Linked DNA regions of Homo sapiens: all the other regions are linked to region 5. Evidence: promoter capture Hi-C in human tissues and cell types (Jung and others, 2019). All regions are on one chromosome and are shown on one strand. The core of a region is centred on a gene start or on the middle of the fragment in contact, and the rest is flanking DNA. Distances in the headings are between cores, read along the strand shown. Region 1 holds the start of COX14 (cytochrome c oxidase assembly factor COX14). Region 2 overlaps TMBIM6 (transmembrane BAX inhibitor motif containing 6). Region 3 overlaps CERS5 (ceramide synthase 5). Region 4 holds the start of SMARCD1 (SWI/SNF related BAF chromatin remodeling complex subunit D1). Region 5 holds the start of FAIM2 (Fas apoptotic inhibitory molecule 2).

Evidence for each region. The method cuts DNA at HindIII sites, captures the fragments that hold promoters and counts their contacts. A contact is called where the count stands out against the background at its distance.
Region 1: a contact is called between the fragment with the promoter of COX14 here and the fragment with the promoter of FAIM2 in region 5, in 1 of the 25 tissues and cell types used here (hippocampus).
Region 2: a fragment that was not itself captured here is called in contact with the fragment with the promoter of FAIM2 in region 5 in 2 of the 25 tissues and cell types used here (adrenal gland and mesenchymal stem cells).
Region 3: a fragment that was not itself captured here is called in contact with the fragment with the promoter of FAIM2 in region 5 in 2 of the 25 tissues and cell types used here (dorsolateral prefrontal cortex and hippocampus).
Region 4: the fragment with the promoter of SMARCD1 here is called in contact with the fragment with the promoter of FAIM2 in region 5 in 1 of the 25 tissues and cell types used here (adrenal gland).

The regions. Positions count from the first base shown.
Region 1 is chr12:50,109,935-50,115,234 of GRCh38, forward strand. COX14 (cytochrome c oxidase assembly factor COX14) reads left to right here and starts at 2,302. Exons shown (of 2, transcript NM_032901.4): 1 at 2,302-2,367. It overlaps GPD1 (glycerol-3-phosphate dehydrogenase 1), which reads left to right. Exons shown (of 8, transcript NM_005276.4): 8 at 1-1,379. RefSeq lists enhancers at 1,742-1,791, 1,852-2,111, 2,332-2,571, 2,582-2,631. The HindIII fragment of the contact is 18,391 bases long and covers 11-5,300 here.
Region 2 is chr12:49,746,158-49,750,958 of GRCh38, forward strand. The region is part of intron 1 of TMBIM6 (transmembrane BAX inhibitor motif containing 6); the gene reads left to right. Among named protein-coding and RNA genes, the nearest start is that of TMBIM6, 7.0 kb to the left of the region's middle. The HindIII fragment of the contact is 5,733 bases long and covers 1-4,801 here.
Region 3 is chr12:50,145,344-50,150,102 of GRCh38, forward strand. The region is part of intron 1 of CERS5 (ceramide synthase 5); the gene reads right to left. The region is part of intron 1 of LOC124902931 (a long non-coding RNA gene); the gene reads left to right. Among named protein-coding and RNA genes, the nearest start is that of CERS5, 20 kb to the right of the region's middle. The HindIII fragment of the contact is 4,983 bases long and covers 272-4,759 here.
Region 4 is chr12:50,083,184-50,088,319 of GRCh38, forward strand. It overlaps SMARCD1 (SWI/SNF related BAF chromatin remodeling complex subunit D1), which reads left to right and starts at 2,159. Exons shown (of 13, transcript NM_003076.5): 1 at 2,159-2,363; 2 at 2,978-3,165; 3 at 3,438-3,480; 4 at 3,573-3,695; 5 at 4,180-4,302. The coding sequence starts at 2,187. It overlaps ASIC1 (acid sensing ion channel subunit 1), which reads left to right. Exons shown (of 12, transcript NM_001095.4): 12 at 1-428. RefSeq lists enhancers at 652-1,384, 1,742-2,001, 2,851-3,582 and a silencer at 2,072-2,511. The HindIII fragment of the contact is 20,407 bases long and covers 1-5,136 here.
Region 5 is chr12:49,901,054-49,906,126 of GRCh38, forward strand. It overlaps FAIM2 (Fas apoptotic inhibitory molecule 2), which reads right to left and starts at 2,847. Exons shown (of 12, transcript NM_012306.4): 1 at 2,725-2,847; 2 at 77-272. The coding sequence starts at 2,739. The HindIII fragment of the contact is 14,088 bases long and covers 1-5,073 here.

The sequences.
Region 1 (5,300 bases), core at 1,052-3,551, 210 kb after region 5:
AGCCACAGGAGCGATGAGGCAAGGATTGTCAGGGAGGGGTCTGGGCTTCTGAGCTGATGCAGGCCCCAAGGACCCCTTTGCTGACCTCTGCCAGGACCCACACAGCTTCGATGGATCTCAGTGTTTGTTAACAAAATACAAAGATCTCAAACAAACCCCTTTTAGCTTCTCCTAGCAACATCTGTGTCCTCAGAAACCTCTGGTTCTCCCCCTTCCCCCTCCCCCAGGCTGCCCTGGCACCCAAATTGCTGCCATGCTGGCATCTGTAGCTCGGTGGCTTGACATTCTCCCCAGGGACTTCCCGGTTCCTAGTTCTTTGCCAGCTCCTCCCCACTCTGTGCGACCTTTCCAAGCCTTCCCTCACCCTCCCCGCCAGCACCCTCTTTGGGGAGCAGGAACTTAATCTGCTGACAGAGCTACACCTTTCATAACAGGCTCAGATCACTCAGCTCCCTGTGACCTTTGTATTCACCCAGGCTTCCTTCTCAGTAGCTCTAGCTGGGGGAGGTGTCAGCTGGGCCCCTCCTGTGCTATCTCCCCAGAGGACATCCCTGACTCCACCCCTTTCTTCCTCCCAAACTCTGCACCTCTTCCTCAGCTGCTCCAGACCGGCCAGGGTAACCAGCTAACCATGCCTGGCATCTGGAAGCCAGCAGGCCAGAGGGTGGCCCAAAGGCTGATGAACGGTAGGGAAGGGTGAGCAGATTCCTATGTTGGTGGGCACCAATATTCCAAGGGCAGCTCTCTTTGCTGAATGAGGGCCTTCTCGTGAGGTACTGACAACACCAGCAACTCGAGAGCTGGGAAACTCAAGGAGGAGGAAGAAAATCAAAACCACCCTACTCCCTGGGGTGAGGAAAGAACAGGAGGGGAGGAGGAGGAGTGTGCTCTGCACTTGCCTTGCTCCAGGATGGGGTGGCAGCAGAGGAATGTCACAGGTCAGCAGCCTAGGCCTCCAGCTATAAATAGTCCGGAGGGCCCGAGAGGCTCCCGCCCGTCCAGCAGGGCTGTCAGCTTCCTGTGTGGCAGCACCTGGCACACTGGCTCTGGCCAGCATTATGCTAAAACCCTGTTACTCTCCAATGAACCAGGGAGGCGGGCTCCTCTCTGCGCCTATCCCTTGAGAATTCTGTCTTACCAGTGAAGGGTGGGGCTGCCCAGATCAGGCAGCAGGAGTGAGGGGCACAGTCACCCCAGGCCTTGCTGAGCCCAGGTCTGGGTACTGAGTGTCCAGAGCTGCCTCCCCAGGAGGTTAAGGTGGGGGCAAAGGGGAAGCTTCAAGCACTTTGCCTACTTTTGTTCACTCCCCAGTGCACTGTGACTCAGGCCTTCCCATCAGGCCTATTTGTCTACCCAATAAAGCGTGTTTTTTCCAGAAACAAGAAGAGTTGGGAGAGGGAGCTTCAGTGCATGTGGCAGTGCGTGTGCTGGCGCGTATCATTGCACGTATGTTTTCCCTCTTACCGTAGGAAAAATGAAAAAAGAAATCCCTCCTCCATAATCGCAGCTACTCCAGGGGTCAGCGGCGGTGCCCACTCAGTCCCCATCCCTCTCTCTCCCCTCCCGCCAGCGCCCCCTCCCGCCCTCGCCGCAAGCTGGCCCCGGCCTTGCCGGCCCTTCTTAGGGGCTTTATCATGCCTCCTGCAAGAATAGAGATCACACACGGGACGGAAACGTTAGACTCTCATCCCTTGTGCCCATTCCTTGGTCACGGGCCAAGCTGCCGCATCCTTAGCGGTCCAGGCATCGCGGTGCCCCTCGGGCCCCTACCTGGACTAGGCCCACAGCCGGGCTCTAGGGGGCGCGCGATCCACCTCCAGAAGGCCGGCTGCGAAAATCTACCCAGCTACTGGCGACGTCACCGCACCGTAGGCTGAGGATTGGCTGACTCTGATTTAGCATCCTAAAACTTCCGGTTCCAGAGCTTGGCTCGCCAAAGACCCTCCCTCGAGGGAGAGAAACCACAGCCCCCAGAATTCAGCGGGCCTCTCCGAGAGCACGGCGCGTCTGAGGATGCGTAGTAAGGATAACGGGCCCGGAAGCCGGAAGTTCAAAGCCGGCCTCCAGCCAGAGTGACGGCCTGCGCGGACTCCCGCCTTAGTGGGCGGAGTTGTGCCGCGTCTGATGCGCAGTTCCCTTTATAGCGCGGCAAGCCGAATCCTAGAGGCTAACCCGGCAGGTGGGAGGGAGAAAGTTGCTTTCTGCACCAATAGCTGAGGCGTTCAGGGTTGTCCAGGGACGCTACCCTCACGTGTCTGGTTCCGAGTGCTGCGTTCGGCTGTGCTGGGAAGTTGCGTAGACAGTGGCCTCGAGACCCTGCCTGCCTGAGGAGGCCTCGGTTGGATGCGAAGGAGCTGCAGCATCCAGGTACGCTGCCGGCTAGGGCCGAGCAGGGGCTGCCAGTCCCACTGCCTGCGCGCCCACCTGGGCCAGTCTCCGCTTGCCGCGTCCTCCCATCCCCTAGTCTGCAGGCCTGGTGCCCTTGAATTCACCCGCTTCTGTTGCGTTGCGGACCGCGAGCTGCACTGCTTCCTGCCCAAGCCCAAGCTCCTCGCAGCAGTAGGTCAGTCTTGCTAGAGCTCAGCGCTAATCCTGTCAAACCTCGACTCCTGCCTGGCGTCTCGACCCTCCACGCTCCAACTCTGCCTCTTCCTTGCTCTATAGACCTCTGCGTCCTGATAAGTGGCTCTCCGGGGCACCCTTCGTGCATATCGGCTATCCAGCTCCACCTCTTGACCGCTTTCACTTCCTGGAATGCTCTCACTGCTCCTCTTCTCCAGGCCATCCTTCTAAAAAGACAGTTCCACTCCCACCCCGATTCCCACCCCTACACCTTTCTGCTAAGTTTTCTCAAGCCCCCACCCTGTCTTTGAGCTGTTGTCTCTGAACTCTCACAGTGCCTCTCCATGAGACCATAAGCTCCTGTATGACAGAAGCCATGTTCTTTTTAGCGGCCTCCGTAGCATGATGTACGTTATGTTATGTTATGTTATGTTATGTTATGTTATGTTATTTTGAGACAGGGTCTTGCTTTGTCGCTCAGGCTGCAGGTGTGCGCCACCACGCCCGGGTAATTTTTAAAAAAAGGTTTTTTTTTTGTTGTTGTTGTTGTTGTTTTTAAATAGAGAAAAGGTCTCCCTATGTTGCCCAACCTGGTCTCCAACTCCTGAGCTCAAGCCATCCTCCCGCCTCGGCCTCCCAAAGTGTTGGGATTACCGGCGTGAGCCACCGTACCCGGCCGATGTACTACTCTCTAAGTGCCAAACAAAAAGTAGATAAAAGATGATGGATACCTTAAAAGCCCTGAGTTGACCACTATGCAGTGTATGCATGTAACAAAATCGCACTTCTACCCATACGTTTACGCAATTTTTTTTTTTTTTTTTTGAGACGGAGTCTTGCTCTGTCGCCCAGGCTGGGGTCCCGTGGCGGGATCTCGGCTCACTACAAGCTCCGCCTTCCGGGTTCATGCCATTCTCCTGCCTCAGCCTCCAGAGTAGCTGGGACTACAGGTGCCCGCCACCACGCCCGGCTAATTTTTTGTGTTTTTAGTAGAGATGGGGTTTCACTGTGTTAGCCAGGATGGTCTCGATATCCTGACCTCGTGATCCACCCGCCTCGGCCTCCCAAAGTGCTGGGATTACAGGCGTGAGCCACTGTACCCGGCCGTTATTTTATTTATTTATTTATTTGTTTGTTATTTTATTTATTTTTTTGAGACGGAGTCTCGCCCTGTCGCCCAGGCTGGAGTACAGTGGCGCGATCTCGGCTCACTGCAACCTCCGCCTCCCGGGTTCAAATGATTCTCCTGTCTCAGCCTCCTGAGTAGCTGGGATTACAGGCATGTGCCACCATGCCTGGCTAATTTTTGTATTTTTAGTCAAGACAGGGTTTTATCATATTGGCCAAGATGGTCTCGAACTCCTGACCTCAGGTTATCAGCCCACTTCTGCCTCCCAAAGTACTGAGATTACAGGTGGCTCACGCCCAGCCTTTTTTTTTTCTTTATTATCATTATTATTATTATTTTTAGAGACACAGTCTTGCTCTGCAAGTGCAGGGCCGTGATCACAGCTCACTGCAGCCCCAAACTCGTTGGCTCAGGCAAGCCTCCCACCCAAACCTCCCTAGTAGCTGGGACTGCAGGTGCATGTCACCACACCCAGCTATGGTTCTCAATTTTTATTCTAGCCTAACACACTGGAAAGATACAGTACACCTCCATCAGTGGCAGTGACTTGATTCAGCAGTGGTTTTCAACCAGGAAGGGGGATGTAGTTAAATGAAAAAAAAAAAAAAAAAAACAGGTGTTTCTGGAATTTTTTTTTTTTTGAGGGGTGGAGTTTCACTCGTTGCCCAGGCTGGAGTGCAGTGGCGCGATCTCAGCTCACCACAACCTCCGCCTCCTGGATTCAAGCGATTCTCCTGCCTCAGCCTCCTGAGTAGCTGGGATTACAGGCATGTGCCACCCCACGCCTGGCTAATTTTTGTACTTTTAGTAGAGGTGGGGTTTTTCCGTGTTGGTCAGGCTGGTCTCGAGCTCCCAACCTCAGGTGATCCGCCCTCCTCGGCTTCCCAAAGTGCTGGGACTACAGGAGTGAGCCACTGCGCCGGGCCTTGGAATTTCCTACCTGCCTTTTCTCCTTAATTGTTGCCTTCTTTGAACTGTTGCTCCCTTGGCCTCTCTCTTTCTGGTCTTATCCTCTCCTTTGGTTTTGCTTATTACCTCCATATGTATCTGAAACATAGCTTCCCTTCTAAGCTGTATCTATCTAAATTTGTATTTCCATCTGCCTGATAGACATCATCACATGAATGTTGTGTTGAGTATCTTAATTTTTTTTTTTTTTTTTTTTTTTTTTTTTTTGAGATGGAGTCTCACTCTGTCGCCAGGCTGGAGTACAGTGGCTGCAACTTCCGCCTCCTGGGTTCAAGCAATTCTCCTGCGTCAGCCTCCAGAGTAGTTCCGACTACAGGCAGGCGCCACCATGCCCAGCTAATTTTTGTAGTTTTAGTAGAGATGGGGTTTCACCATGTTGGCCAGGATGGTCTCAATCTCTGGACCTTGTGATCTGCCCACCTTGACCTCCCAAAGTGCTGGGATTACAGGCGTGAGCCACCGTGCCCGGCCGGTTTTTTTTTTTTTTTTTAAATAGAGATGGGGTCTCGCTGTGTTGCCTAGGCGTAGTCTTGAACTCCTGGGCTCAAGCGATTCTCCTGCCTCAGCCTCCCAAAGTGCTGGGATTACCAGTGTGAGCCACCATGCCTGGCTGAGCATCTTAATTTTTTTTTTTTTTTGA
Region 2 (4,801 bases), core at 1,436-3,935, 160 kb before region 5:
CTGCAACCTCCGCCTCCTGGGTTCAAGCCATTCTCCTGCCTCAGCCTCCCAAGTAGCTGGGATTATAGGCGCCCACCACCACGCCTGGCTAATTTTTTGTATTTTTAGTAGAGATGGGGTTTCATTGTGTTGGCTGGGCTGGTCTCGAACTCCTGACCTCAAGTGATCCGCCTGCCTCAGCCTCCCAAAGTGCTGGGATTACAGGCTAAAACTAGACTTTTAAAAGAGAATAATCTACTGAAGATATTGTAGTAATGAGTACACCAGTAATAACAATGTTAGTACACCAGTAATAACAATGGTTACCATGTATTGAACTCATTCTATGTACAAAGAGCTATTTTAAGAACTTTATTTGTATTATCTCACCTAATCTGCAACCTTAGGAAATAAGGATTGTTATGTACTAGTATTTTACACATGGTAGGTGAAACTGAAGTACAGTGAGGTTAAGTGCCAGCAGCTTGCTGCATGTCCCACTGCTAAGGAAATAACTAGGATTCAGAAGTAGCAGGCAGTCTTAACCACTATGCAGGGGACATGGTTATACAGTGTATGAACATTACTCAGTAGTAAAAACTAATGAATGGAAAGCTTTCTTGGCCAAAAACACAGAAGAAGAAGAAGAAGAAGAAAAAAAACTACTGACAAATTACTAACAGTTCTTCCCCCTCCTTTTTTTGTTTTTGTTTTTTTGAGACAGAGTCTGGCTCTGTCACCCAGGCTGGAGTGCAGTAGCGCAATCTCGGCTCACTGCAAACTCTGCCTCCTGGGTTCAAACGATTTTCCTTCCCTAGCCTCCTGAGTAGCTGGGATTACAGGCGCCCACCACCACATCTGGCTGATTTTTGTATTTTTTTACTAGAGACTGGGTGTCACCATGTTGGCCAGGTTGGTCTCGATCTCGTGACCTCAGGTGATCCACCCACTTAGGCATCCCAAAGTGCTGGGATTACAGGCATGAGCCACCGTGCCCAGCCCTTTCCCCTCTTTTAAACTATATGGGATTTTTCTTCTAAGTATCAATTTGGTCCCTTCTAGATATGTGGGAACAAGGTTCAGGATGGTTGAATTTATACAACAGGAAGAAAGAACCATGTAATTGACAAACTAATTTTTTTGTTTTAATTTTATAAAACGGTTTTGCTGTGTTGCCCAGGCTGGGGTGCAGTGACACATTTTTGCTCTGTTACCAGGCTGGAGTGAAGCAACATGATGATGGCTCACTGCAGCCTGAAATTCCTGGGCTCAAGCAATTCTCCTTCCTCAGCCTCCCAAGTAGTTGGGACAACAGGCGCACACCACCACACCCAGCTAATTTTTTAATTGTTTGCAGAGATGAGGTTTTGCTGTGTTGCCCAGGTTGGTCTGGAACTCCTGGGCTCAAGCGACCCTCCCACCTTGGCTTCCCAAAGTGCTGGGCTCACAGGTGTGAGACATTGTGCATGGCCTTTTTCCTTTTTTGTTTTTTGGAAGTGAACATAACCTTGAGACTTTATTGTCTTCATAATAAAACATAAACTGATATTTAATTAAATGTGCGAACAGTGTTTCTTTGACTTGCTGTTTTAATGTTGCTGTACACACTGAGGCAAAGTCTGTCTTGGCTCCAGCATTGCATAGAACGCATACTAAATCCACGATAGTTTTGTTTTGCATAGCTTTTGGCTACTTCAGCATGTTTCATGTTCACTGTAGCTCCTAGGTGTGTGGGAATAGGACTGAAGAGAATGGTTGTGTTTTTTTTAATTTTTAAATTTTTTTTACACGTAGTCTCGCACTGTCACCCATGGTGGAGGGCAATGGCGTGATCTCAGTTCACTGCAACCTCCGCTTCCCTGGCTCAAGCGATTCTCCTGCCTCAGCCTCCTGAGTAGCTGGGACTATAGGTGCCCGCCATCACGCCCAGCTAATTTTTGTATTTTTAGTAGAGACAGGGTTTCACCATGTTGGCCAGGCTGGTCTCCAACTCCTGACCTCATGATCTGCTTGCCTTTGCCTCCCAAAGTGCTGGGATTACAGGCGTGAGCCACCGCACCCAGCCTGTTTTTTTTTTGTTTTGTTTTGTTTTGTTTTTAATTTAAGGCTGGACCCTTGATAATAGTCTTTCATTTTAGGACAAGGGTAAGGGAGATACCTAGAACAAAACAAGGCATTTAACATGACCTAGATGTCCACTGCTAAGAATGCCTGTCTCCTCCTACCAGCCCCTGCTGTCCCTGTCTTCCCAAGCAAAAGCAGACCACAGGAATATCTAACTCAAACAATTGTGTTTACTTGAGTTTTTTCTTGGGAGAGCTATGTATTAAGCTCTTAGCTTTTTGTTTTTGCATGGCTCTGGCAGAGGAGGCTGGTCAGGGATACCACAGAATGATGACACTTCAGCAAAACTTTAGCAGTATGTGCATGACATGTTGACAGCTTCTGACAGGTTTTCCTCTCCTGGGATGAAGGCATAACAGGAGGCTCTGAATGAAATTAGAGGAATTTGGTTATGATTAACACCTGAACATTTACTTTTCAGTTACAAACGCAGTATAGGCAGATTTTCCACAACTCCAGGAGGCACTATCCACATTGTATTCTATGTAAATAACCCCTCCTCTTTATTTTAGAATTGAATTAGTAAGTAATAGGCTTAGAGGTGTGAAAGGACTGCTGTATTGAATTTTTTAGCAGCTTGTAATGTACTTTTTTTCTTTATTGTGGTAAACTATAACATTTTAATGTGTTTTTTTAAAACAAAGATTTTCATTTAACTGTGGGCTCCTCTGGAATGTTAGCGAGTTACTTGGTTAATGGTACTGAATATAATACTTCAAGCTCTTAAGAGCTGATTGCTCCTAGAATGGAAAATACTTGATATGAGAGCTGCTATTTTTGAGTTAAGTGCAACTTAATCTTGTTTGGCTGAGTTTGCATATCGGCCATTGAAATGTAGGTATCTTTTCTGAGCTTCGCTAGTTGAAGCTAAGATTGAAACTTGGTAAGTTTATTTTATCTGGCAAAACTTGTCAGAACAGTTTGATCTCATTACTTATCTGTATATTCTTGTCTATTTGGAACAGCTCTAGAGCAAACTATCATATTTCTTTGATTCTAAGACCTATGTATTCCCTCTCACATTTTAACATTTCTGAAATTGTCATCTGTACATTGTGTCATATACATTAAATGTATACAGATGCTCCTCAAGACGGGGCTGCATCTGGAAAACCCCATCATAAGTTGAAAATACCGTAAGTTGAAAATGTAAGTCCTTTTCTTTTTGTAAGTCATTTTTGTTTTTTTTTGAAACGGAGTCTCGCTGTGTTGCCCAAGCTGGAGTACAGTGGTGTGATCTCGGCTTACTGCAACCTCCACCTCCTGGATTCAAGTGATTCTCCTGCCTCAGCCTCCCAAGTAGCTGGGACTACAGGGGCGTGCCTCTATGCCCAGATAATTTTTGTATTTTTTGTAGAGACAGGGTTTCGCCGTGTTGGCCAGACTGGTCTCGAACTCCTGACGTCAAAGTGATCCACCTGCCTCGGCCTCCCAAAGTACTGGGATTACAGGCGTGAGCCACTGTGCCCAACCTGTAAGTCATTTTTGAGTCAACGATATTTTTAATTTACAATGGGTGTATCCAGATGTAAGCCATCGCAAATCAAGGAGTGTACCGAATGAGTATCAATTTCTCCCAGTGATAGGTCAACCCTGGTAAGTCAGGGACCATCTGCTTTACCAGGTTTCTTTTTTTTCTCCATAAAGCTAATAAAATTGCTGTGCCCTTTTGCGTCTATAATATTTGGTAGTTACATGTTTTGTTTTAAATTTTGAAATACTGATATTGAAAAACAGAAGTTTTAGTTATTTTTTAATGATTTCAAACCACAAGCTTCTATTAAATCAAAGTGAAATTGCCGTTTGACATCTCATCCCCCTGCCCCAACCCACACAGCCTTTGATGGTTTTGGTTTTTCCATCAACAGTTGTTAAGAGAGAACCAGAAAGAGGCAGTCAGTACCCCCTGGGAAACGTCAGAGAAGTATCTGAGAAAGGGGAGTTTCTGCCATTCTCCCCTCGAACAGATTCCGCCAAGCAGGGTCTGGTTACATGAGCATTGCCTCTTTCTTAGAATCCCCTGGGCGTTTGAGGATCCACCCCGCTCCATCCCTTACCTTTCTTTAATTCTTGTAATTGGAAGCAAGAGGTTCTTTAGCATTGCTGTTGTGAATACTGAGAAACTTGGCTCTGAAAGTTGCTTCAGTATTATTGTAAGTGCTGTCTAGGGATGTCATTAGGGGTGTTAATGGGAAACCTTAAACAAAGACACTTTCCAGGTGCTGAATTCTGCCATGCTGTAAGTGTGCTCTCTAGAGGACATAGTCATATTCATCTTGGTTATGGAAGGCTGTGGTTGGCCTTGTAACAACCTGCAATAATTGCACCATCTAGATCAAGAGGGCCCAGATCCGTGTGACTCAGAGGAGAGAGCAACAACCTTAGTAGGTTCTGCAGCTTCTCACTGTATCTGTCCTTAAGAACAGAATTAACAAAAGTTCTGAGGTGAGTAGTGATGTTAATGAGAGAAGGAAAGAAGAAACCAGAGAAAGCAAGCCAGCCATTGTGATTGTTTCATTTGTGGGAGAGAGCCTCAGGAAGCAGATGATGTTTATATCTTTCCACTGGCCCAGGATTCCTTAGGAAATTTGTTTGGGGACTGTAACTTTTATTATTACCTAGATGAATTGTTCTGAGTGTTGGGCTGGGTGCTGATTAGAGTGCTTCATTCAGTAGGTGGCGTTTCACACAACTTTAT
Region 3 (4,759 bases), core at 1,513-4,012, 240 kb after region 5:
TTTAAGAACATCAGCACTAGGAAAACTCTATATTGCCACTTTCAGGATAAGTCAAAACCAGTTTTAGCCCTTAGCATCTTAAGGAGTCCCATAATGAAAATATGACTGGGAGGTGTAAAATGGAGTGCCGTTAACCTATTTTCTTGAGCTGCATTTGAACCTAGAATATATTATCTCTAAAGGAGGGATTGAGAATAAGAAACTTTATCTCCCTCTATGAAAACTTTTTACCTTATCACCAAAGTTCCTGAGCCATAGAGTAATATTTATTCAGAGCATAAATTTAGCCACATCTGTAACACATTCTCTTTTACACCGGTGGGGGGGAAAAAAAAAATAGTTCCATTCAAAGGCCAATGCCAGTGGATACCTTAATTTACATTTACTGGTATACTATTCTGTATACCAATAATATTTAACCCCCAACTCATGTTTAAACTCCTTGTAAACACAAATAGACTGCTTTTATATTTACCAAGGTACTATGCTCAGCAGTTGCTCAGTAACTGACAAGCAACATGTTTTAGTGAAACCCACTCTTGTTGTATTGGAGGTCAATTCTGACCCAAAATTAATCAGCATTCAGAAGAGTAAATGAGGCCGTCATTCTTTGTTGTTGAGTTGATGCCATATCAGAGATAAAAATCATCTAAAAACCCTGTCTCCTCCTTTCTCCTATCGACATAATTGCATGAAAATCCAAAGGCAGAAAACAGCCTTTCCAATTCCTACTCTTACCCCTAACCCAGGCTTCTTTAATCCAGAGGCAGTCAGCTGATTAAAACTCAGATCTGCAGTTAGACAGATTTTACCAGCTGAAAGACCTTGTGACTGTTACATACCCATAGAATGGAGATAATATCTACCTCACAGGGTTATTTTAAAGATAAAATGAAACAATGTATGCCTACACCAATACCTGACACTTAGCAAACATTCATTAAAGAGTAGCTATTATTATTTCACTAGAAACATATTTCAGTCTGGGTACTCTCTGGTACCTCCAGCAGAAAGTGAGAAGCAAGAAATACTCTTTGATATAACAGGTCTATATTCTGCTCACCTCGGTGAAGCCAATTTTAAAATTACTATTATCTGGATCATGGAGTGGACTTAACAATCTAGAATTGTCATTAGCTCACATCCTGCCCTCGTTAGTTCAGAGTTCGGTGAAAAGCATAAAGCTACTCATATCCAGTCAGTTCCAGCTATATGGAGCGTAAGAACATTTGACAGCCGGGCGCAGTGGCTCACGCTTGTAATCCCAGCACTTTGGGAGGCCGAGGTGGGCGGATCACGAGGTCAGGAGATCGAGACCACGGTGAAACCCCGTCTCTACTAAAAATACAAAAAATTAGCCGGGCGTGGTGGCGGGCGCCTGTAATCCCAGCTACTCGGGAGACTGAGGCGGGAGAATGGCATGAACCCGGGAGGCGGAGCTTGCAGTGAGCCGAGATCGCGCCACTGCACTCCAGCCTGGGCGACAAAGTGAGACTCCGTCTCAAAAAAAAAAAAAAAAAAAGAACATTTGACAAATACTTGTTGATTGTTTATTTTGTGCTACAGAATGAAGCTTTATTATATTTTCCAGATGTGATTGGAAAATAATCTTTTCTAATTTGTGATAAAAATTAAATATATAGATTTAGTTATACACAGTTAATGAATTACCTTACTGAAGAAAGTGAAATTATTTGAAATTATAGCTTTTGAGAAAGTATTAATTCTACATCATACAAAAGGTTGGTATTTGGTATAACTTATAAAACAGGTATCTAGGCCAGGCGCGGTGGCTCATGCCTGTAATCCCAGCACTTTGGGAGGCTGAGGCGGGCGGATCACGAGGTCAGGAGTTCGAGACCAGCCTATCCAACATGGTGAAACCCCATCTCTACTAAAAATACAAAAAGTTAGACAGGCGTGGTGGTGTGTGCCTGTAACCCCAGCTACTCAGGAGGCTGAAGCAGGAGAATTGCTTTTACCCAGGAGGCGGAAATTACAATGAGCTGAGATCACGCCATTGCACTCTCTCTGGCCTGGGTAACAGAGCGAGACTCCATCTCCAAAAAAAAAAAAAAAAAAAATAGGTACCTAGGGTGGTCAATTTCCAGAGCCTGGCATTCATCATTTCTGCTACATCAGCATTTCTCAAAGTGTGGTTTAGAGACCCCTGGGGGATCCAGAGACCCTTTCAGTAGGTCTACAAGGTCAAAACTATCTTCAGAATAATTCTATAATTTCATAAAAATCTATTCTCTCTCATGAGAGTACAGTGGAACTTTCCATAAGTTACATGACATATAACAACAGACTGAATGCAGACGCTGACATGAGACTACAGCTGCCAGATATTTTCAAAAATGTTAAAATGCTACTCTTCTCACAGTTTTTTGTTTTGGAAAATAGTTATTTTTCATAAAACGTAATGAGTTCATTGTTATTTATTTATATTGAGACAGGGTCTCACTCTGCCACCCAGGCTGGAGTGCAGTGGTGTGATCACTGCTCACTGCAGCCTTGACTTCCTAAGCTCAAGTGATCCTCCCACCTCAGCCTCTCAAGTAGCTGGGACTACAGGTGTTGGCCATGCCCAGCTAATTAAAAAATTTTTTTTTTTGTAGAGACAGGGTTTCACCATGTTTCCCAGGCCATTGCTATTTTTAAATGAATAAATATGGGCTGGGCACGGTGGCTAATGCCTGTTATCCTAGCACTTTGGGAGACTGAGACAGGTGGATCACTTGAGCCCAGGAGTTTGAGACCAGCCTGGGAAACGTGGTGAAACCCTGTCTCTCCCCAAAACACAAAAGTTAGACAGGTGTGGTAGCTCATGCCTGTGGTCCCAGCAACTTGGGAGGTTGAGGTGGGAGGATCACTTGAGCCTGGGAGGTCGAGGCTGCAGTGGGCTGTGATTGCGCCACTGCACTTCAGCCTGTGTGATAGAGCCAGATCCTGTCTCAAAAATAAATAGGCTGTATGCGGTGGCTCATGCCTGTAATCCCAGCACTTCGGGAGTCTGAGGTGGGCAGACTGCTTGAGCTCAGGAGTTCAAGACCAGGCTGGCCAACATGGTGAAACCCCATCTCTACCAAAAAATACAAAAATTAGCCAGGCATGGCGGCACATACCTGTAGTCCCAGCTGCTCAGGAGGCTGAGGTGAGAGGATCTCTTGAACTCGGGAGACAGAGGTTGCAGTGAGCTGAGATCTCACCACTGCACTCCAGTCTGGGCGACAAAGCAGACTCTGTCTCAATAATAAATAAATAAATAGGCCGGGCGTGGTGACTCAGACTTGTAATACCGGCACTTTGGGAGGTTGAGGCAGGCTGATCACTTGAGGTCAGGAGTTTGAAACCAGCCTGGCCAACATGGCGAAATGCCATCTTCTACTAAAAATACAACAACAAAAAATTAGCCGGGCATGGTCGTGCACACCTGTATTCCCAACTACTCAGGTGGCTAAGGCAGGAGAATTGCTTGAACCCGGGAAGCGAAGGTTGCAGTGAGCCAAGATTGCGCTACTGCACTCCAGTTGGGGTGACGGAGCGAGACTCCATCTCAAAAAAAAAAAAAAAAAAAAAAAATATATATATATATATATATGTGTGTGTGTGTGTGTGTGTGTGCGTGTAGACATTTTATACATGTATAAATACATGTAGAAAACATGTACATTTTCCCCATTTTTTTTCTAAAACAGTAGACATTGATAGGTACTATCCACATAAACAAAAACTCTTTGGGATCCTTGAAAATTTTTTAAGATTGTAAAGGAGTCCTGAGATCATAGTTTGAAAACTGCTGTGCTAGATGATACTGACAAATTATACTTTTAGTGTGGCTTTCTGTCTTCTCCAGGATCAATCCACATTTTAAAATAATTTGTCAGACAAGATTTTTCCTTTCCTGGCAGATTTTAGTAAGTAGGCATTTAGTGGTCTATAAAAAGAAGCTACTACTTTCCACCTGTAACTCCAGGAACACGAGTCTAGTGACCCATCCTGACAGTATTAGATTTGTCCTGCTTTGTAGAGATCATTTCACTCTGCCCTTTTCCTGCTCTCCAGATACATAGCAGCAGTTGACCTAAGCCTGGGTTAATTAGGATGAAATTACCTAGTGCTTTCGCTTTTTCCTATCAAAGACAGGATGTATATTCACAATGCTACTTTTGTGATTCATTACACCACTGATGAATATGAATTATACACAAATAAAACCAAAGTCTAGATTAAGCTTCTCAACTATTGTGGCAAGTAACACAAATGGGCTATACTTATGCTGAGATATTGATTTTAGCTCTCAGGGTGATCCATGGGGCCTTCGGGTAGCCAGAAACCTTTAGTCTGTAGTCTCTGGCCTCATATACCTTACTGTATAATGCAAATGTTATTTATGTATTTATTTAGAGACAGAGTCTCGCTCTGATGCCTAGGCTGAAGTGAAGTGTGGTGGCGTGATCTGGGCTCACTGCAACCTCCGCCTCCCAGGTTCAAGTAATTCTTGTGCCTCAGCCTCCCAAGTAGTAGCTGGGACTACAGGCGTGCACCACCATGCCCAGCTAATTTTTGTATTTTTAGTAGAGACGGGGTTTCACCACATTGGCCAGGCTGGTCTTGAGCTCCTGACCTCAAGTGATCTGCCTGCCTCGCCTCCCAAAGTGCTGGGATTACAGGCGTGAGCCAGCATACTCAGCCACAAATGTTATTTTTTATGTGTGCAGCAATATTTCCAGATTGAGAAGTACCAGCTTAGATC
Region 4 (5,136 bases), core at 909-3,408, 180 kb after region 5:
CCCACCACTTTTATTTTCTGGTGAGGTGGGTTTGGGAGGAAAGAGAGGCCTAGAGGAGGAGTTGAAAGCTCTGCTGTTGTCTCACCCTATCTTAATGAGAGACAAGTGAGGTGGAGGGCCTGCCCCCCCTCCCTCCACCAGACACTCCTTCCAGGCCTGAGCCCCAACCCCTCTTCAGGCCTTCCTTCCCTAGCTGTGTCTTGGTCTTCAATCCCAGAACAGGACCTGTGAGCAGCTGCATTGGCCTGGAGCTGGAGAGTAAGGCTGTAGGATCTTTGGAATCTCTTGGTTCCTAAGAGTTTCCTCAGAGATCATACCTCCCCAGAGGGAAGCAGGAATGAGGCCAAAAAGTGTGCATTGGATAGGGGAACAGCAGGCAGGGCTCTGGGTGACGCATGCCTCTGGTCTAATAAACTGGGTTTCAACCATCTCCTCTTCAGTGTTGTTCTCTTATTTGAAAAAGTATTTAGATATTCTCACTAAGTGCCTAAAGCTGAGCTTGGTTTGGGGCCAATTAGGGGATGAGTAAGGAGAAGGTTTGAGTAGGGACACTGTGGTCCCCCTGGGATGGGACAGGCTGACCATTATATCAGGAATAGTTTGAACCACTGGGCAGGGAAAGAGGGAGAAGTCAAAGGCAACAAAGTTCCAAAACAGAATCCCCAATACAAAGGATGCTTTAGAGAGAGAGAGCAGAGTCAAAATTCAAGATAAACTGGAACTTATCATAAAATCTGGAAGCAGGCTGGCACGGTGGCTCATGCCCGTAATCCCAACACTTTGGGAGGCTGAGACAGGTGGATCACTTGCGGCCAGGAGTTCGAGATCAGCCTATGCAACATAGTGAAACCCCCATCCCTATTTTTTTTTTCTTTTTTGAGATGGAGTCTCGCTCTGTCGCCCAGGCTGGAGTGCAGTGGCGCGATCTCGGCTCACTGCAAGCTCCGCCTCCCGGGTTCACACCATTCCCCTGCCTCAGCCTCCCGAGTAGCTGGGACTACAGGCGCCCGCCACCACGCCCGGCTAATTTTTTTGTGTTTTTAGTAGAGACGGGGTTTCACCGTGTTAGCCAGGATGGTCTCGATCTCCTGACCTCATGATCCACCCGCCTGGGCCTCCCAAGTGCTGGGATTACAGGCATGAGCCACCGTGCCCAGCCCCCCATCCCTATTTTTTAATATTTAAAAAAAAAAAAATCTGAGGCCAGGCACAATGGCTCACACCTGTAATCCCAGCATTTTGGGAGGCTGAGGAGCACAGATCGCTTGAGCTCAGGAGTTCGAGACCAACCTGGGCAACATGGCGAAACCCCATCCCTACCAAAAATACAAAACAGTCTGGCATGGTGGTGCATGCCTGTGGTCCCAGCTACTTGGTAGGCTGAGTTGGGAGGATCACTTGAGCCTGGGAGGCGGAGGTTGCAGTGAGCTGAGATGGTGCCACTGCACTCCAGCTTGGGCGAGAGAGAGACAGACCTCATCTAAAAAAAAATAAAAAATAAAAAATAATAATCCGGAAGCAGGTTAGGTCAGAGAGAAAGTTAGGATGAAGTTCCCACGTGAGGTACTTATTGAGGCACTTTATCTGTGGAATGAGTCCCGGGCTATGAGCAAGGGTATCTGGAATCTTGGCTTCGGCTTTATGGCTAACTTGCTGGTTGACCTTTGCCAAGTCATTCACCTGTGAGTTCAGCTTTCCCATTTGTAAAATGGAATAAACTGTGTTTCCCTCCTCAGCCCCTGATAGTTATAGCAGTAAGAAAACGAAACGAAAAGCAGTCAAAGCGTTTTGGAAAGTTAACGCCATGCGCCAAGATGAAGCTATTACTCCAAGCCCCTCTTCATCAGAGGGCTCGAGTTGGGGTTGAGACTGGGGCTGAGGCTGTGGTCCGTCCCCCTTTCCAGGTCCTTGTCTTCCTCCCGTCGGCCTGGGGGCGCCCGCTCACGCGGCCTCTCTATTGCAGAGCTCTTCTCTATGGTTTTCCCTCCCGGACCGTGAAGGCGGGAGGGCGTGGCCAGCACGCCTTTTCCGCTAGTCGCCCCGCTCTATCCCATAGTCTCGCTGCCCTGAGCCTCCCGTGCCGGCCGGCCGGCCGGGGGAACAGGCGGGCGCTCGGGGGGCGCTCGGGGGGCGGGGGGAGTTCCGGTTCCGGTTCTTTGTGCGGCTGCATCGGCGGCTCCGGGAAGATGGCGGCCCGGGCGGGTTTCCAGTCTGTGGCTCCAAGCGGCGGCGCCGGAGCCTCAGGAGGGGCGGGCGCGGCTGCTGCCTTGGGCCCGGGCGGAACTCCGGGGCCTCCTGTGCGAATGGGCCCGGCTCCGGGTCAAGGGCTGTACCGCTCCCCGATGCCCGGAGCGGCCTATCCGGTGAGTGGGGCAGGAGGAGGGGCGCGCGGGCCGGGGGCGGGGCCGAGCGGGGACATGGGAGTGACAGGGGTGGGGGGAGAAGTAGGAGGGACTCCCTTGGGAGGGGTTCGGGCTCTGGGTGGGGGTTGGGGGAGGCAGTGCGCAGAAAGAGAGGGGGAGGCAGTTACACACCTGCTCCTAGGGGCATTGTTTCCCTGGGGAGTCGGTAGAGAACCTGGGTGGGTGAAGTGGGTCCAGGGATACCTGTATGAGGGCCGGAGTGCAAAGGGGCTTGAGCAGCTCCAGTGATCAGAGGAACACAGAACGTGTAGCTGACAAATTGAGGTCAGCTTCTAAAGAGATAGTAGCTAGCAGAGTAAATGTGGAACTGGCGATGTCCGATGTGTCCCATCCAAAATAGACTGAGAATTTGAGTATAATCTGGCTCTCGCTTAGCTTTTGGACTCTGTTTTTCTATGGAGTCACTACTGGAGCAAAGGGTTCTCCTCTCATTGTCCTCCATTCCATCCCTAAACCTTACTTCATTCAAAGATCTCAGGCGTTCCCTGCTTTTCTTTCTTGATGGGGTTTAGCAGGTGAAACCATGACATCTCTGGGTCCTCTCCCCTCTGTAGAGACCAGGTATGTTGCCAGGCAGCCGAATGACACCTCAGGGACCTTCCATGGGACCCCCTGGCTATGGGGGGAACCCTTCAGTCCGACCTGGCCTGGCCCAGTCAGGGATGGATCAGTCCCGCAAGAGACCTGCCCCTCAGCAGATCCAGCAGGTCCAGCAGCAGGCGGTCCAAAATCGAAACCACAAGTAAGATGATCCTGGGGCAGAGGGAGGGAGGGAGGGAGCCTGGGAGGACACAGGTGGTGGGAGTACCTGAACCAAGAAGTGGTGGTGCTGTGTCAGCAGATGGTGCTACAGAACTCATCCTTGAGAATGCTTGGTGGTGGTGGTGGTGGTGGTAGTTCTTTGAGAGAAGCTTTGCAGTCCCTTCACATTACTATAAATGGACGTGCTGACAGCTTATTTTCACGTTCTGACTAGTTCTGTCCCAACCTGATAATAGTATTTATTCCCAACAGTGCAAAGAAAAAGAAGATGGCTGACAAAATTCTACCTCAAAGGGTGAGTCCAGGCTATATGTCTTCTGGAAAGTGTGGTGAGTTTGAGTATAGAGATGATCATCCTAGATTTCAATTAATTTTTCTGTTCCTAAGATTCGTGAACTGGTACCAGAATCCCAGGCCTATATGGATCTCTTGGCTTTTGAAAGGAAACTGGACCAGACTATCATGAGGAAACGGCTAGATATCCAAGAGGCCTTGAAACGTCCCATCAAGGTAACACAGGAAAGTACTAGGCAGAGAGCCAAAGGAGAGGACCCAGGAACCTTCAGCAGAATTAGGATGAGAAATCAAAGGCACAGCACAACTCTCCTTGGCATTTAAATTGCATCTCTCCCTTCCGCCTACAAACTGAGAATTACATTAGGAGGATAAGAACAGAATGGCAAAGGGGGAGGGGCTCTTGATGTCTCTTGCACTACAAATATACCCTTGTCCATGTTTTCGCTGTAACTGCTCTGCTACCTTGGGAACCTGGCACCTTGCATGACTTTGTCCACCTGGCATCCCACTATATGCACTTGTACTTAGGCTGATGGCCAGTACTCCTCTTCTAAATGGAATCTTCATCCACCCACCCAAGGGACTGGGTAGACAGTAAGCCAGTCTGTTAGGAGTAATTTTGGGGTTTGGGGAGACCGTTGTCTTCAACATCAGACCACTGAAGCCCCACGATCAATCCTGTTTCTGCCTTCCTCAGCAAAAACGGAAGCTGCGAATTTTCATTTCTAACACTTTCAATCCGGCTAAGTCAGATGCCGAGGATGGGGAAGGGACGGTGGCTTCCTGGGAGCTTCGGGTAGAAGGACGGCTCCTGGAGGATGTGAGTTCAAGGTCCACAATGGTTGGCATCTAGGGTGGGAGCTGCTGGGAATGAACAGTGTTGTCTGGTCAGCAGGAAGCCTAACTGGTGCTCACAGCTCCTTTTGGGAGCAGTAAGGAGAGGGACACTGTTCCCTGCACTGAAAGACAGTGGTCCTTTGTGTTTGCCCCCACACCTTTGGCCCTCACTGGTATCATATGGAGAACCTTATTGTCCTGGGATCTGATTTGTGGTTTACCTTCCTCTTGGTGCTGCTGGCCATTGGATTTAGCCATATCTGTAGATTATTTAGTTTTTTTTTTTTAATCGAGTTTGCACTTAATTTGAGGCTGTGTTTCCTCTCTGAGTCCTTGTGGTATCTCCATCTTCTCAACTTTCACTGGAGGCACCCCACAGTTTAAGTAGGATAGATTTCTCTTGACAGGCTCTTTGTTGCTTCCTGGGGAGCATCAGCTGACAGGTGATAGTCCCCAAACTTCCCACCCCAGAAGCTCCTCGGGGAAGCTCACCTTTCTCTCATTCCCTTACATTCTCTGGCTCTTATTTTTAGCTGCTCGCAGGCAAGCTAGTTGGAATGCACTTTTGCAGGAGAACCAGGGCTCAGTGTCAGAGCCTCCTTCTCTATATAGGTCCGGTCCATCTGCTGGTGGTGTCATTCTGTCCAAATAAAGCTGTTTTTGTTCTGGCTGCTTATTGCCTGTGATTCATTTCCCCTCTAGAGTCAGACTTTTCTCTGTTCAAACTCGCTTAGTTATGTGCAATGGTTTGCTTAACTTGCCTCATTTCCCTTGGGCAAATGAGATGGGTAAAACAGTGACCCTCTATGTGTTCTAG
Region 5 (5,073 bases), core at 1,597-4,096:
TCCTCCTACTCAGGTTTTCCCTCTGGGTCCACCCCCACCCCATGATGCTTCAGGTTCCAGGAGCTGAAAGACTTACTGGGGTCCACATAGGCCCAGCTAGGGTGGAGAGGCACCGCTGTGGGGGCTGGGGGGAAGGCCCCTGCCTTCATCCCCTCCCCAGAGGTGGCTTCCTCATAGGAGGGTGGGGCTGAGGGCACTGCTGGAGCCTCCTTCTTCTCGCCATGCACCTGCTGCTGCCCCTCGGTCCCAGGGGCCTTGTTAGCCACGGAGAGCTATGGAGTAGAGTCAGAGAGAGAGATAGTCACCAGGGAAAGGGAGCCTTCCAACTCCTCCTCCTCACCAACTCTTCAATTCCTGGAACTTTCATGGTTCCTTCCTTACCTGCACTTGGAAGCCAGGAATGCAGACAAGAATGTCTCTATTTTATAGACAAGAGAACTAAGCTCCAGAGGGGTCAGAGCTAGCTGGGGCACATGGTGGAGCTGGGATAGGAACAGAGGAAAGAGAAAATTCTTAGGAGTGTCCACCATTGGTTGTCACTGTCATTGTCCCTGGGGTAGGGGCAGGGTCTCTATGGTTCCAGAAAAGAGCCTGGCACATAGTAGATTGTTACAAATAAAAGGTTATGTCATTTAATCTTCCTGAGACTTGCTAGCTGCATTTTGACCCCTGCTTTAAAATGAGGAGAATGAGGATCACAGAGGAAGAGCGATTCATCCAAGGTCACAGAGCTGCATGTGGCCCACTGAGAGGCAGGGCCTAGGCATCATCCACTGGGATTGATCCTTCTGTTGCGCTGGAAGTGATGCAAGGAGAATGGAGATGGGAGAGAGAAGGGCAACAGAAAGGGAAGAGGAGAGGGAGAAAACAGAAAAGAAGAAGGGCCTTCAGGGTGGAGGAAGGGCAAGAGGATCCAGGCTAAGGGTCTGTTCTGGCCTCATCCTGTAGGAATCTCAGCCTCTCCCCTAAACCAGAACAGACTCACAGAGTGACCCAGTGGAAGGGGCCTCAGAAGACATCCAGTTGAGTCTCTTCCGTCACTGAACAGATGAGGAAACTGAGGCTCAAAGGGAAACGTCCCCATGGCAGGTTGGAAATGCGAGTCCATTTACACTCAGATGTGTCCCCTGCCCCCCACCCGTGGACATGTTTAGCTTTGGTGAGAGGATTTGAGCTGGGAAGGCCTGAATGAGGCAGCCAGAGAAGGAAAGACTGGGGTGGAGGGGGTGGTGTGAAATTGAAACAGCAACAAAAAGCCCGGCTCTCAGAAAATGGGATTTAGGTCTGGTTCCCAGAAGACTGTGTTAGACCTAAAGGGCCACTGAGGAAGACTGCGGACTTCCTTCTTTGCAGGGAGCATCTGGCTGAGGCAGCCTGGAGACAGGCACGCACCAGAAGACTTCTGGTTCCATCCAGGCCCAAGGACCACTGAACTGGAGCGGTCTTCTCCATCCCCCAGCAAGCCTGTGCGTGAGCTGGGGACAAGGGGCAGAGGAGGCAGAGGTCCCCCTCACACCAGGAAGGGAACAGCGCCACTAAAGGGCCTGGTGGAGGCAGGGTGGAGGTGGAAGGAGACTCAGCAGAAGGGGTGAGTTCTCCATGTTTACGGAACTGAACACTCCCCAGGCCTCCCACTGCCTCCCACTCCCCAGCCCCCCTCATCACCCGGATCTGAAGGATCATGTCCACCTAAATCGAGTTCAGCCTCCACCCTGCCACTCCGCCCCCCAGAGCCTCCTGGACCCTAATGCCCAGGCCCCCGACACACATACGGCACTCCCAAGTGAGGTGTGACCAATGGCGGGAGGTGGTATCACCCAGTGACATCATTTGAGGCCCAAAGAGCTTGCATACAGGGAGAGGAGGGTCTGAGGGTCCAGGGAAGGATGTCATTGGCTCTGAAGCTCCTCTCAAAGAGAAGAAGGGGGAGTGTAGGGGAGGTCCTTCCCCTGTTTTCTCTGCCCAATCCTTAGCAACCCAAACAGAGGGCCCGAGTACCCTCCCCCTTAGCCCCAGGCCCTAGTGGTTGTATAATTCCACAGGCTATTGATGTTACATAAGCCTACTAGGCCAGCCGAGTCTCTGCCCCAGCCCCTCCCCTACAATTCAGGCCTAAAACTGGAGAAGAGATGCTTCATCCGGACCCATCCATGCCTGGCCAAAACCAAAACAACAATTAGAGCATCTTGATGCAGAGTTGTCATAGCAAGCCCCAAGCACAGGGATGGAGCCAAGACGCCCAGATGTGGAACAATGGCAGGGAGTAGGGTGGGGGTTGTTTCCGTGGAGGGTGGGAAAGATGAGCATAAAGTGGTTGGGTTTGGGACTGGAGGGTTGGGCCAGAGGGGGTTGCCCGATAGGCACTGCCCCTCAGGGCTCACCCTGGCACACACATACCCATGCACACACATACAGTCACACCAGACGCCCGGGCTGACTCCTCACGGGGGGCCTGGGTATCTGTGAGGAGCCTTGTAATGCTGTAATGCCAAAGCAGGGGTGGCAGGGTGACAGGGGAGGAGAGGCGCGCCTGCGGGCAGGAAGAGGCCTCGGTCCATTCCTTGACACCGGCCTTTCGGTCCTCTGACTTCAGCAAGGACCACGGAGGACCTTCAAACTAGGGCCAGGGGAGGATGCTTTCGTGGTCCAGAGGGCTTGCTGAGGATGACAGGGAGCCGGGAGCCGGAGGATGGAGGATGGTGCAGGCTGGGGAGATGCCGGTACCTTTCCCTGGGTCATGGTGCCGTCTCTCGGGGAAGGGGTCCCTGAGGCCCGGGTGGCCGCTTGGGTAACCGCAGCCTGCCTGCGTCTCTTCCTTCCTCCGCGTGGGTTCTAGCAACATCCACTGCAGCCGGGCCAGGCGAGCCGGCGCGTACCATCGGCGCGGGGGGAGGAGAGGGCCGGGCCTGGGAAGATGCTGCGGAGGACGCTGCGGATTCGCGAGCCCGGGGTAAGGCGGCGGCGCACCGCCCCCTCCCGCCGCTTCCCCCCCACCCCGCCCCCCACCGCCGCCCTTAGCCCTCCCCCGGGATGAGAGAGAGTCGCGCTGCGGAGCAACCCCAGTGGATGGGTCCGCGGGGGCTGAGCGGGCGGAGGACGCGGGAACTCCGTGACACCGACCAGCTGACGCTGCCCGCGTGAAACCAGAGCCGGGCATCAGGGCCTCATCTCCACTGTCTCTGCACCTCTCTGCAGCTCCAGCTGCGCCTCTGCCTTTTCCTCCTCCCTCTTTGGATGCGGCCCTGATTTCTGTCTCCATCTCCACCTCCCCTCTCATCATCTATTTCATCATCCCTGGTAGAGGGGAAGGTCTGGAAGTCTCGCCTGTGCTGCCCGCTTCTAACAGGGCCCCTGGGCCCTGCGCTCCTGTGGGCCTGGGGCAAGCCAATAGCCACCTATCCTTGCTCCTTTTTCTCGCCTGTGAAATGCACACAGTAGGTCCCTCCCTGCCTTGGTTCACAGAGACATGGGGTGGGAGGACACCTCTTCTGTTTCTTTCAGCCCTGCTGGGACATTTCACGGGGTCTTTCTGGAGACACCGCTAGTTCTGTCTCAAAGCCTCTACAACCCCTGCCAGAGCTCTCTTCCTGCCTCCACGCTTAGCTTCCATCACCCCGTCTCCATCTTCCCCCCTTTTCCATTCCTCCCATGCCAGAGCTCGTTCTCCCCGCTTCCCCAGACGTGTCACTGGGACCCAGCCATCATCAGGCCCCGTTTTCTGTAGCTGCTGCAGTGTCACTATGGGGTTTGCAATCTCAAGAGCTGGGATCAAGTCCCAATTTAGTCACCCACTGGCCGCGTGGCCTTGGCAAGGCCCTTAACCTCTCTGAGCTGCAGCTCCTACGAAAAAGAGGCTTAGAACAGAGCTCTGTCCATCCTAGATTGACTGTCAGACGCACAGGTTATGGCCGTAAAAGCACATAAAAGACCAAGAAGTGCTGGAAGTATGTGAGGTATTATTAACTGAGGAGTCTCCTACCAGAATGTCCTGGGCTGCCCCAGAGCGAGCACCCACAAATCTGCCTAAAAGAAGTATCTGAACCTGCTAGGATGGGACGAGAAACTAAGACCTGGGACAGGTGGGGGTGGCCACTTACCTTCTGCTTCCCTCTCACTGCCCAGGGACCCACCTAAAGTCCCTGAGAAAGCAGGGCCCAGGTAGGCAGACAAATTATCAAAGTCTTTTTTTTTTTTTTTTTTTTTTTTTTTACAGAGAAAATCTTGTTCTGTTGCTCAGGCTGGAGTGCAGTGGCACAATCTTGGCTCACTGCAACCTCTGTCTTCCGGGTTCAAGTGATTCTCCTGCCTCAGCCTCCTGAGTAGCTGGGATTACAGGCGCGCACCACCACGCCCGGCTAATTTTGTATTTTTAGTAGAGACAGGGTTTCACCATGTTGGCCAGGCTGGTCTCCAACTCCTGACCTCAAGTGATCCACCCTCCTCAGCCTCCCAAAGTGCTGGGATTACAGGTGTGAGCCACCGTGCCTGGCCTAATTATCAAAGTCTTTATCCCACCCCTTTTTGCCCTTTGTCCCCCACTCCATAACCACCAATTTTGCACAAACACACTTAAGCCTGGGCCTCCGTGTCCAGAGGCTCTCTCAACCCTACAAACCCGAGCTCTTCTTCCAGCAAGCTGTGCCCTGGTCCCCAGCACTGCACCTGGAGCTCTGACCAGCTGGTCCAGGTTCTGGCCTTCCCTCCTTCTCTGCATCTGCATCCTGGAAGTGTTTTCCTTCTCCTGCTTGACAGCTTGAATGCCACCTCCTCCAGGAAGCCTCCTTCCCCCCCTAGTTGGGGTTAGATGCTCCTCTTCTGTAGTTCCCTAGCACCCTGATGTAACGCCTGTCACGTGGCGCTGTGAAGTTTCTTTGACTGACTCCCTGTTACACTCTAAGCTCCTGTAGCAGTTTTGGTGTGAGCTGGACTGAATGCAGTGCCAGGTGTGTGGAATGCACTCCATCAATTGTAGCTAGTAATATTTCCCAGACATGGCACTACGCAGAGCCTGACTTTCATCAGCCTTAGCACTTTCATGTTTGTGAATCACTCCTGTTCCTTCTCTCGCATTCA